Linked DNA regions of Homo sapiens: region 1 is linked to region 2. Evidence: promoter capture Hi-C in human tissues and cell types (Jung and others, 2019). All regions are on one chromosome and are shown on one strand. Each heading gives the region's core, a stretch centred on a gene start or on the middle of the fragment in contact. The rest is flanking DNA. Distances are from core to core; before and after follow the strand shown. Region 1 overlaps GBF1 (golgi brefeldin A resistant guanine nucleotide exchange factor 1). Region 2 holds the start of NFKB2 (nuclear factor kappa B subunit 2).

Region 1 (5,484 bases), core at 2,907-5,406, 130 kb before region 2:
ACCATGTTGGCCAGGCTAGTCTCAGACTCCTGACCTCAGATGATCCACTTGCCTTGGCCTCCTAAAGTGCTAGGATTACAGACGTGAGCCACCGTGCTCAGCCCATATTTTCTTTTTGTGCAGTGGCGTGATCTCAGCTCACTGTAACTTCTGCTTCTTGGGTTCAAGCAAGTCTTCTGCCTCAGCCTCCTGAGTAACTGGGATTATAGGCGTGTGCCACTATGCCTGGCTAATTTTTGTATTTTTAGTAGAGATGATGTTTCACCGTTTTGGCCAGGCTGGTGTTGAACTTCTGACCTCAAGTGATCCGCCCACCTTGGCCTCCCAACCATATTTTCTTTAAAGGAGCAAATTTCACTCAATTGAAACAGCTTGGAAATGTTAGCTAAGAAGGATCAAGTATAGAGGAGGCAATTGTTGACTAGTTAGCAGGGCAAATGCTGCTACTAGGTGGCATGTTCTTATTTTATGGCCTGTACCGACTGGTACTTGAGTGCTTTAGAATGTTGGCTACTTGCACAGATTTTTTTTTTTAATTTTACAGATAAAGCTTACATATCCCAATTAGAAAGGAAATATAATGAATGGAGATTTACAGTTCTTTTTGTTTGGTTTTGAATTCAGAGTACTGTCTTCTTAAGAGATATTAAGAGGATCAAACAAGTTAATATAATTGGAAACACTTGGTAAACATCTTATACACAGTGAAGGATTGTTGTTATAAGTGACTGGGAATACCCTAAAATGACTGAGATCACCCTGGCCTTGTAGGCCTTTTGGTCATTCTGCAAACCTTGAGGAGCTGAGGTGGTGCTGCTATCCTGACAGAGCCACATTTCCTGCCTGCTACTGAATCCAGATCCCATGCTTATTTTCTTCATGCTAACATGTCCCAAGATTTTACCTCAGAGACCATACCTGTGGTGAATGATGCAGTCTAGGAATTGTAGACTATTTAAGAGCTATCAAAGTTGAGTCTGACGCCTGATTTCCTTACGTCCTTGGGTCAGAAATCCAGCCAGATTATCTGCTCTTGGAACTAGTAAAACCAGAGTGTGTTCAGGAGCCATTTCTCTCATTGGTGGTAGGAACATCTCTGGGTGTTGCTAAGCTTTCCCCTGGAGTGAGAGGGAAGGGAGTAGTGTTTTCCAAGGCCAACAGCTGTGGCATGTCTTGAAATGGTGCCTGCCAAGGTTGCTACATTGTTCTTGGTTTTTAGCATATTACCTGCCTGAGAAAATGACAGAATAGACCTAAAATAGAGCATTTATGGTCTTCATATTGCTTCTGACCCCACACACAGTGCCGGCTCCCAGGAGCAGGTTTATGGGTCAGCTGTCCCTGTGGTCCTGGACTCTGCAACCCATGACTAATTTCTTGTTTCTTTTACGGAAACAAACAGATTTTTCTGATTGGCAGTGTCAGGAGGACTGCTTTCCTGGAAGCTTATTAATGGTAGGAGGCTGGGAAAGGGTTTTTAACTTGGAGAGAAAACTGAAGGGAATGTGCTTGTGTTAGATGACCAGTTAAGGTGTACCACTTAGATTGGAGGAGGGATAGCAGGAATTCTAGGACTTCTACCCAGTTTCTCATGAAACTGACTTGGACATGGTCCTTTTTTGCAAAGGGTTTCTGTTTGCATTTTTCTAGGCTTTCTGCTGGCTTGATTGGTAAGACTATCACTGTTGGAAATGGGTGGTTCATTGGACATTGTCAGTAAACCAAAATGATTTTTTTTTCTCTTTTTGTAGAAAGAATCTTTAAAATGTATAAGTACTACCTACACTACTCCTCCAGGAATATTATCTCATTATTGTGAAGGAAATAAGTCCTTTTCTCCAGTAAGGTTGGCTAAGTCCATACTAGTTTTTCTCACAGATGTATGTCATTGGACCACATTTACAGTCAGTATTTGCCTAAACTGTATGATGACTACAAGGTCTATAGCATTTAGAGTAATAAGATATTCTAATAATACCAAATTTGAAAAGAGGGTTGCTCTTGGAAGAAAAAGGGTGTCCAAGAGCAAAGTTTGCATACTGTTACTTTGGATAAAGCTTTAGCTTACCACCAGTGAGAGAGACTTGACTGCTGTCCCTCATTTGGTCTTGAAGTCCTCTCAGGACTCCTTTTAGATTATTCTGAAGGAGTTAAAACAGATGTGTGGTTACCAGGGGCTGGGAGGGGGTATGGAGAGTGACTGCTAATGGCTACAGGGTTCCTTTTTGGGGTAATGAAAATGTTCTAGAATTAGATAGTAGCGATGGTTGCACAACTTTGTGAGTATACAAGAAACCACTGAATTGTATACTTGAAAAGGATAATTTTATAGTATGTGAATCATATCTCAGTTTATAAAGGAGGCAAATGTAGGCTGCAGAAGTGATGGATTTGCCAGTTTTTTCTCAGGTCTCAGAACTGTGGAGGGAAGTCTCTGTAGTCACTGCTGTGCTTTGGACCCATTACCCAGCAAAGGCAGCATAAGGCTCTGTTCAGCTTCTGGCCCAGTTTGTCCTTTTATGTCTCTCTCATTAACTCAAGGAAGCACATGGCTTTTATATTTAAATTTATTCAAACTGTAATCTTTGACATTTGAGTTAGCTTTTAGTACAGTTTTGCATTTATAGTAATATATATTATGTATTTTCTCTATCCCCAAAGAATCCGTTTTAATCTTTTCCGGATGCAAATTTCAGGCTGTCTTGTCCCATCTTCCCTCTCTTGCTCTCTTTCCCCTCCCCCCACGGAGTGTGTTTGATCAGGTGTGGCAGGAATATCCACTGTCAAGCTGCGCCCTTTATATTAGTCAATATTATCCTTCTCCCCCCTCCCTGTCTGTCTGCCCCTTTGGGCTTTCCCAGTTGATTTATAATTTTGGAATTCTCATTGGAGTCTGTAATACAGTTTGTTCATTATTTAACCAAAACCTGTTTAATGAGCAGAGAGAGGCAATGTAAATGTTAGGCATGTTGCAGTGATGTACCTTTGTGCTTCTCAGAGCGGGTGGGTAGTTAACTCTGTGCTGCCTGCAGGGCTGGGGTGTCCTGGCCTTAGGGGCAGAAGGGCCACTGCCTCTCTCTTACATCTGCCCAAGCCCTGCCATGGGTTTAGATTCCAAAGACACATTTCCTTTTATTCTTCTAAGAATCTTTTGGGGCTCTTGCATATGGGAGTTATCTTCAGTCTCGCAGCTAGACCTTGTGGTAGGATCTGTGGCATGGGATGGGGCATGGAAGGGAAAGTGAAATATCAGGATACTTGATATTGCTCTTGGTTTTAGATCTGACAAGAGTAGACAGTTTATGGGAATGCTTCTAGCCAATATGGTCTGTGGTCTTTGATCTCTTTGTTCCCAGACTAGATAAATTCTTGCAAGCCTTAGTTCCCTTCATCCAGTATAGCTTTATGGAAAGGGCTATAGTCAGTTGTGAGTTGTGGTGTTTGGTTGTAGTCATTTGCCTCCAGATATAGTCTGTCTTTGTCCTTGGTCTTTAAACTTAGATCATTACAAAGAGATTCTTTTCCAGAAAATTTTTGGTTTAAAACAGGAGAGGAACAGTCTAAAAGTATCACAACCAGGCTAGGTGCAGTGACCCACATCTGTAATCTAGCACTTTGGGTGGCCAAGACAGCAGGATTACTTGAGGCTGGGAGTTCGAGACCAGCATGGGCAACATACCAAGATTCCCCCCATCTCTACAAAAATAAAAATAAAAAAAATTAGTTGGGTATGGTGGCGTACAACTGTAGTTCCAGCTACTTAGGCTGAGGCGAGAGGATCACTTGAGCCCAGGAGTTCGAGGTTACAGTGACCCATGATTGCGCCACTGTACTCTAGCCTGAGTGACAAGAGTGAGACCCTTTCAATGAATGAATGAATGAATGAATGAATGAAAGAAAGTATCACAACCAAAATCTTCTCTTATGGGATCATCTTTTAATGACTTACTTTAAAGCCTTCAGGGCCAGGGCTTGAGGAAGACTTCTTAGGGTGTGCGTGTGTCTATGTGCGTGTGAGGGTGTGGTGGTGAGGAGTTTGCCTTTGGAGATTTAGTCCCAGGTCTTTTTAGCTCTGAGGACCTAATGTCCAGTTTTGGTTATCAGGACTGGGGTTCTCAGTGTAAGACTAAGGTGGAGGGCCGGGTGCGGTGGCTCACGCCTGTAATCCCAGCACTTTGGGAGGCCGAGGCGGGCAGATCACGAGGTCAGGAGATTGAGACCATCCTGGCGAACACGGTGAAACCCCGTCTCTACTAAAAAAATACAAAAAATTAGTCGGGCATGGTGGCAGGCGCCTGTAGTCCCAGCTACTCGGGAGGCTGAGGCAGGAGAATGGCCTGAACCTGGGAGGCGCAGCTTGCAGTGAGCCGAGATCGTGCCACTGCACTCCAGCCTGGGTGACAGAGCGATACTCTGTCTCAAAAAAAAAAACTAAGGTGGTCTTGAGGCCCAGTATAGGTACCCATATTAACTATAACATTGTTCTAGCTTCTTAGACCTTTTCTTTTGGGGATTCTCCAAGATTTGGATTCCTTCAGGGCCTAGCTTATTGAGTTGCTTCTAACTGATATTTATTGACTATCTGGTATGTGCCAGGCATTTTTCTTAGGTACTTAGGAAGTGGGTCTGTAATGGTAAACAATCAGTCAGACTTCCTGCCCTCATAGCCACTGGTTTGACAGGACTAATGACTCTAGCTGATCATTCCAAAGCTAACATTTTGTAGCCTCTACTTTATGCTATATGGTCCCTATCAGGCATGGAATGGATGACCATGAGTGAGAGCAATCTGCTGCCAGCTTTTCTTATTCCTGCTCTTTCCTTAAGGAACAAGCCAAAGAAATAAGTAAAAACAATAGCTCATATTTGCTTATTTGGCTTTCACATGTAAAGCTGTTATGGCCAGAGTTTAGCTATTCCCAAAGACATTGGTGGGTTGCATAGCGTAATTCTGGGGGATAGGATATTTCTTTACAGAGCTTACTGGGACAGCAGGTTATGGCGTGCTTGAGTTTAAGAGGGAGAAGCACGTGCCAGGAGAAAGTGGATGTGTCAGGAGTTTATTTAAGTATAGTTTATCCTGGACAAACACACCTGTAGGGTACTGTCTGTCTCAAGCTTTGTGAATTCAGAGTCTGAGCTAGGAGGTTTGAGTCCATCTAACCTCCAGAGGTTTGCAGAGAACATTTAAACAGAGTCTGGAAGCCAACTTGGGAGGAACTATGACTTAACACCTGTCTGGCCTGGGCCTCTTAGCAGTAGCCGCTTAGGTAGAAAAGAAACTGTTTGAGAATGCCTGATACCTCAAGTTTAATCTGTTTCATTTGGAAAATGGGGAGGTGTAGAGAAAAGAGATTTTAGTAGTCATTGTCAGGAAAAAGATTGAATAAGAGTATATTATATGTGCCAGGCATGGTGGCTCACACCTGTAATCCCAGCACTTTGGGAGGCTAAGGCGGGTGGATGACTTGAGGTCAGCAGTTC
Region 2 (5,282 bases), core at 6-2,505:
CGTGACGCACGGAAACGTCATGGGAATTCCCCCCTCCGGGGGGCCGAGAAGGGGCTTTCCCGGCCCTGAGCCCTGCTGGCAGGCGAGGTGTCGCGACCGGTCCCAGGTGGGTCGGGCGCGGAGAGAAGCCGCAACCAGAGCCGCCGCCACGGTGAGTGGCTGGATTCAGACCCCTGGGTGGCCGGGACAAGAGAAAAGAGGGAGGAGGGCCTTTAGCGGACAGCGCCTGGGGCTGGAGAGCAGCAGCTGCACACAGCCGGAAAGGGCGCGCAGGCGACGACACTCGGATCCACGTCGACACCGTTGTACAAAGATACGCGGACCCGTACGTACACCTGTACCTGTGCTGGCGCACACACGGCAGCGTCCGTGCAGTCGCACTCGCACACACATGCACACGGAGACGTGCCCACCGGTGCACTGGTGCCTGCACCCACACCCTTCACGCACAAACTCAAGATACGCTCACCCGTGTCCGTACATCAAGACAGGCGCTGACACACACCCACACTGAGAAGCTCGGGATTCACCTATCTACACACATGCTCGCTTGCACACTCATGTTGACGCCATGGACACACAACATGCAACCAAGCACTACAGCCGAAACACACTTGTGGAGCTGTGATGGAGACACACTCTTGTATTAGGTGGGGGGGGGGGGGGGGGAGCGTGCAGAGATCTCCCTGTCGCCTGCGCGCCCAGAACCGGTGCGGTGTGGGACCAGCTGCTGTTGTGAGGTTTGGGAGAGAGAGAAAAGAGCCCACTCCGAGGAGGAGACACTTTTCCCGCAGCCCCAGAATCGCGTTCTCGGGGCAGAACCCCGGGGCCTCCCACAGGAAAGAGCCCCCGCCTACAGGCTGTTCGAAGGGGAGGCCGTCCGACAGCAGGAATGTCCCCCCAAAAGCCCCCGGGGTTTATCAGCCGTGGCCTCCCTCCTGGCAGAAAATCCCAAGGTTGCTCCAGACCGGGGGAGGGGAGCGGGAGGCGGACTTGGCCCCAGACTGCCAGCCTCCTCCCGGCCGTGAAAGACCCTCCTGTTCCCTGCCCTGGAGGGAGGAGGGGGCTTAACCCCCACCGGGGCTTCCCGGATTCTCCTAGACCTCTGCCCGCTGAAAAGCAGCGGGAGCCCGTAGACTGTCGAGGGCCTCCCGCCCCTCCCGTCGCGAGGGCGGGGCCAGTGGCGTCATTTCCAGGCCCGCCCCCTCCGGCCCCGCCTCCCCTTGGTATTTTCGGGACTTTCCTAAGCTGCTCTAACTTTCCTGCCCCTTCCCCGGCCAAGCCCAACTCCGGATCTCGCTCTCCACCGGATCTCACCCGCCACACCCGGACAGGCGGCTGGAGGAGGTCGGACCCTCCCCCAAATCTGGGCCCCCATCTCCCGCCCACCCCCATTTAGATCTGACCCCCTCCCCCACGCCACTCCTCCCAACTTTAGGCGGGCGTCTAAAATTCTGGGAAGCAGAACCTGGCCGGAGCCACTAGACAGAGCCGGGCCTAGCCCAGAGACATGGAGAGTTGCTACAACCCAGTGAGTCATGCCGCCTGCCCCTGACCCGGCCGGCTGCCCCTCGTGTCTGTCCACCTGTCTGCCCGAGCCCCCTCTGCTGCCTTACACCTGTATGCTCGCAGATGCTCTCAGCCTGCCAGTCTGTCCATCTGTCTGCAACTCTGCCTCCAAAAGGAGCTTTCTCTTGGGTCTGAGGAGGAGGGGGGAGTGACCACTGAAGACTTGGAGATGGGAGGTGGGGCTGTGGGGGGTGCTGAGAGTCGGATGCCACCCCCAGTCTGTCTCCAAACCAGGGTCTGGATGGTATTATTGAATATGATGATTTCAAATTGAACTCCTCCATTGTGGAACCCAAGGAGCCAGCCCCAGAAACAGGTCAGCAAGTTCACTAACCTCCCCTAGTCCTAAAGCGGGGGAGGGAGAGCATGTGCCCTCTCTCTGGGGGAGGGGCTGGGAGATCGTGGCTCAGCAAGGTCTCTCTGTCCCCAGCTGATGGCCCCTACCTGGTGATCGTGGAACAGCCTAAGCAGGTGAGTGAGCAAAAGGGAGGGTGTGGAATGGCTTCAGCTTTGGGGACAAATGGGGTAGTGGTAGCTGGCTGGCCATGGAGGAGCCATTGCCGAAGGAGGCCACAGGGGATTGGATGGTCACTGCTGCTGATCAGAGTGCTGTAGTTTGGTTCAGGGCTACTACCAGGCACTGCGGTCACTGCTGGCCTGGGTGGTCTTCCCTGATCACAATGCTACTATGCCCTTGGACCTTCAGAGAGGCTTCCGATTTCGATATGGCTGTGAAGGCCCCTCCCATGGAGGACTGCCCGGTGCCTCCAGTGAGAAGGGCCGAAAGACCTATCCCACTGTCAAGGTGAGCCAGGATGGTGCTGGAGGGTGGGCTAAGTGGACAGCATGCCCAAGGCCCTGACTGACAGTCCCTGCCTCTCCTAGATCTGTAACTACGAGGGACCAGCCAAGATCGAGGTGGACCTGGTAACACACAGTGACCCACCTCGTGCTCATGCCCACAGTCTGGTGGGCAAGCAATGCTCGGAGCTGGGGATCTGCGCCGTTTCTGTGGGGCCCAAGGACATGACTGCCCAGTAGGTGCCCTCTACGCCTGGCCCCCACTGGTATGCCCGTCTGCCAGTCCCAGGCCCCAGCCCACCTCCATGAGCTTAGCATCTGACCAAGGGGAAAGATGTAGGTTGGCCCCAAACCCAAGGGCCTAAGTAGAAACTCCAATGGCTTCCTTGAGGAAGTAAGGCTGAGCTGAGCCCTGGCAATGGGAAAGGTGCCTCAGGAAGAAAGAACTGCATGGCCAAAGGCCTCCGATTCTCTCTTCTCAGATTTAACAACCTGGGTGTCCTGCATGTGACTAAGAAGAACATGATGGGGACTATGATACAAAAACTTCAGAGGCAGCGGCTCCGCTCTAGGCCCCAGGGCCTTACGGGTATGGGTGCAGGGGGTGGGTCGGGTATGGGTGCAGGGGGTGGGTGGGTCATGGGAGGTGCTCATGGAAGGAGCAGGGAGGGAGAAGCCCAGGGGTCACACATGTACCTACTGCCCAGAGGCCGAGCAGCGGGAGCTGGAGCAAGAGGCCAAAGAACTGAAGAAGGTGATGGATCTGAGTATAGTGCGGCTGCGCTTCTCTGCCTTCCTTAGAGCCAGTGATGGCTCCTTCTCCCTGCCCCTGAAGCCAGTCATCTCCCAGCCCATCCATGACAGCAGTGAGTATCCTGATTGCCTGGGGTGCCAGGCCTGGTGGCAGAGGTGGCATGAGGGGTGACCTCAAGCTGTGCAGTCAAACAGACCCAGGTTTCAGAACCTGGCCCTGCCACATATGAGCTGAGTGATCCTGAGCAAGTCATTTCCCCCCCGAAGCTTCTGTCTTTAGTAAATGTGTATATTGGGTGTTTCCTGCAGCTCCAGGGGTTGCTGAGATAAGGAATACAAAGCCCCCAGCTTCTTAAATGTGGCCTTGGCTATTGCATCATCTCAACTAATCCATATCCCACTCCATAGAATCTCCGGGGGCATCAAACCTGAAGATTTCTCGAATGGACAAGACAGCAGGCTCTGTGCGGGGTGGAGATGAAGTTTATCTGCTTTGTGACAAGGTGCAGAAAGGTGAGACTGGAGCCCACTTTGGGCACCAAGGACATCGAGTATAAGACTGGGGCCAGGGAAGCTCTAGGGTAAATGGCCCCAGAGATTCCACCGGGAGCTGTGGCCAAGCTTCCGTTTTCCTTGTAGATGACATTGAGGTTCGGTTCTATGAGGATGATGAGAATGGATGGCAGGCCTTTGGGGACTTCTCTCCCACAGATGTGCATAAACAGGTACCCAGGGCTAGGGCCCGGGCCCGGGCTGGGGGCTAAATTAGGCTAAGGACTCACTGACACCCTGTGTCTCCCTGCACCCCCCAGTATGCCATTGTGTTCCGGACACCCCCCTATCACAAGATGAAGATTGAGCGGCCTGTAACAGTGTTTCTGCAACTGAAACGCAAGCGAGGAGGGGACGTGTCTGATTCCAAACAGTTCACCTATTACCCTCTGGTGGAAGGTGGAGCTGGGCTGAGGACCTCAGGGTGCTGGCGGGGGGCCAGGCTGGGCTAGAAGAAGGTCCCAAGAGCTAGATGTGGGGATGCATGAGCCAAGTCAGAAGTGCGAGGGTCCCAGGAGGTGCTTCCTAGGAGCCGGCCCTGAGGGCTCTTCTGGGAAGGGCCCCTGAGGCATGACACAATAACTGGGCTCAATCTCATTTTCCTCTGCCCCCAGACAAGGAAGAGGTGCAGCGGAAGCGGAGGAAGGCCTTGCCCACCTTCTCCCAGCCCTTCGGGGGTGGCTCCCACATGGGTGGAGGCTCTGGGGGTGCAGCCGGGGGCTACGGAGGAGCTGGAGGAGGTGAGGGGGTACTGATGGAGGGAGGGGTAAAGGTAAGAGAAGCTGTGGAGGAAAAAAATCTGGGGGAGGCCGGGCGTGGTGGCTCACGCCTGTAATCCAGCCCTTTGGGAGGCCAAGGCAGGCAGATTACCTGAGATCAGGAGTTCAAGACCAGCTTGGCCAACAGCGTGAAACCTCGTCTCTACTAAAAATACAAACATTAGCTGGGCATGGTGGCAGGCGCCTGTAATCCCAGCTACTCGGGAGGCTGAGGCAGGAGAATCGCTTGAACCCTGGGAGACAAGAGGTTGCAGTAAGCTGAGATCACACCACTGCACTCCAGGCTGGGCAATAAGAGCGAAACTCCGTCTCAAAAAAAAAAAAAAAAAATCTGGGAGAGTCATGGCTGGTGCCCGCTTCCCACAGCCCTGCCTGTATCCACAGGTGGCAGCCTCGGTTTCTTCCCCTCCTCCCTGGCCTACAGCCCCTACCAGTCCGGCGCGGGCCCCATGGGCTGCTACCCGGGAGGCGGGGGCGGGGCGCAGATGGCCGCCACGGTGCCCAGCAGGGACTCCGGGGAGGAAGCCGCGGAGCCAAGCGCCCCCTCCAGGACCCCCCAGTGCGAGCCGCAGGCCCCGGAGATGCTGCAGCGAGGTATGGACTCCGGGGCACGGGCGGTCGGGGCGCCGGGGCTGAGGACCTAGCCCTGACCCACGCCCTCTGTGGCCCGTAGCTCGAGAGTACAACGCGCGCCTGTTCGGCCTGGCGCAGCGCAGCGCCCGAGCCCTACTCGACTACGGCGTCACCGCGGACGCGCGCGCGCTGCTGGCGGGACAGCGCCACCTGCTGACGGCGCAGGACGAGAACGGAGACACGTAGGCAACAGAG

Evidence for each region. The method cuts DNA at HindIII sites, captures the fragments that hold promoters and counts their contacts. A contact is called where the count stands out against the background at its distance.
Region 1: a fragment that was not itself captured here is called in contact with the fragment with the promoter of NFKB2 in region 2 in 4 of the 25 tissues and cell types used here (liver, lymphoblastoid cells, mesenchymal stem cells and 1 more).

The regions. Positions count from the first base shown.
Region 1 is chr10:102,261,819-102,267,302 of GRCh38, forward strand. All of the region lies in intron 3 of GBF1 (golgi brefeldin A resistant guanine nucleotide exchange factor 1), which reads left to right. Among named protein-coding and RNA genes, the nearest start is that of GBF1, 19 kb to the left of the region's middle. The HindIII fragment of the contact is 6,652 bases long and covers 831-5,484 here.
Region 2 is chr10:102,394,450-102,399,731 of GRCh38, forward strand. NFKB2 (nuclear factor kappa B subunit 2) reads left to right here and starts at 1,256. Exons shown (of 23, transcript NM_001322934.2): 1 at 1,256-1,347; 2 at 1,439-1,531; 3 at 1,804-1,885; 4 at 2,000-2,040; 5 at 2,276-2,374; 6 at 2,455-2,606; 7 at 2,853-2,959; 8 at 3,078-3,236; 9 at 3,532-3,636; 10 at 3,763-3,848; 11 at 3,936-4,074; 12 at 4,290-4,415; 13 at 4,839-5,048; 14 at 5,128-5,269. The coding sequence starts at 1,511. RefSeq lists enhancers at 1-221, 1,272-1,321, 1,732-1,851, 3,323-3,617 and a silencer at 4,832-5,151. The HindIII fragment of the contact is 8,929 bases long and covers 1-3,567 here.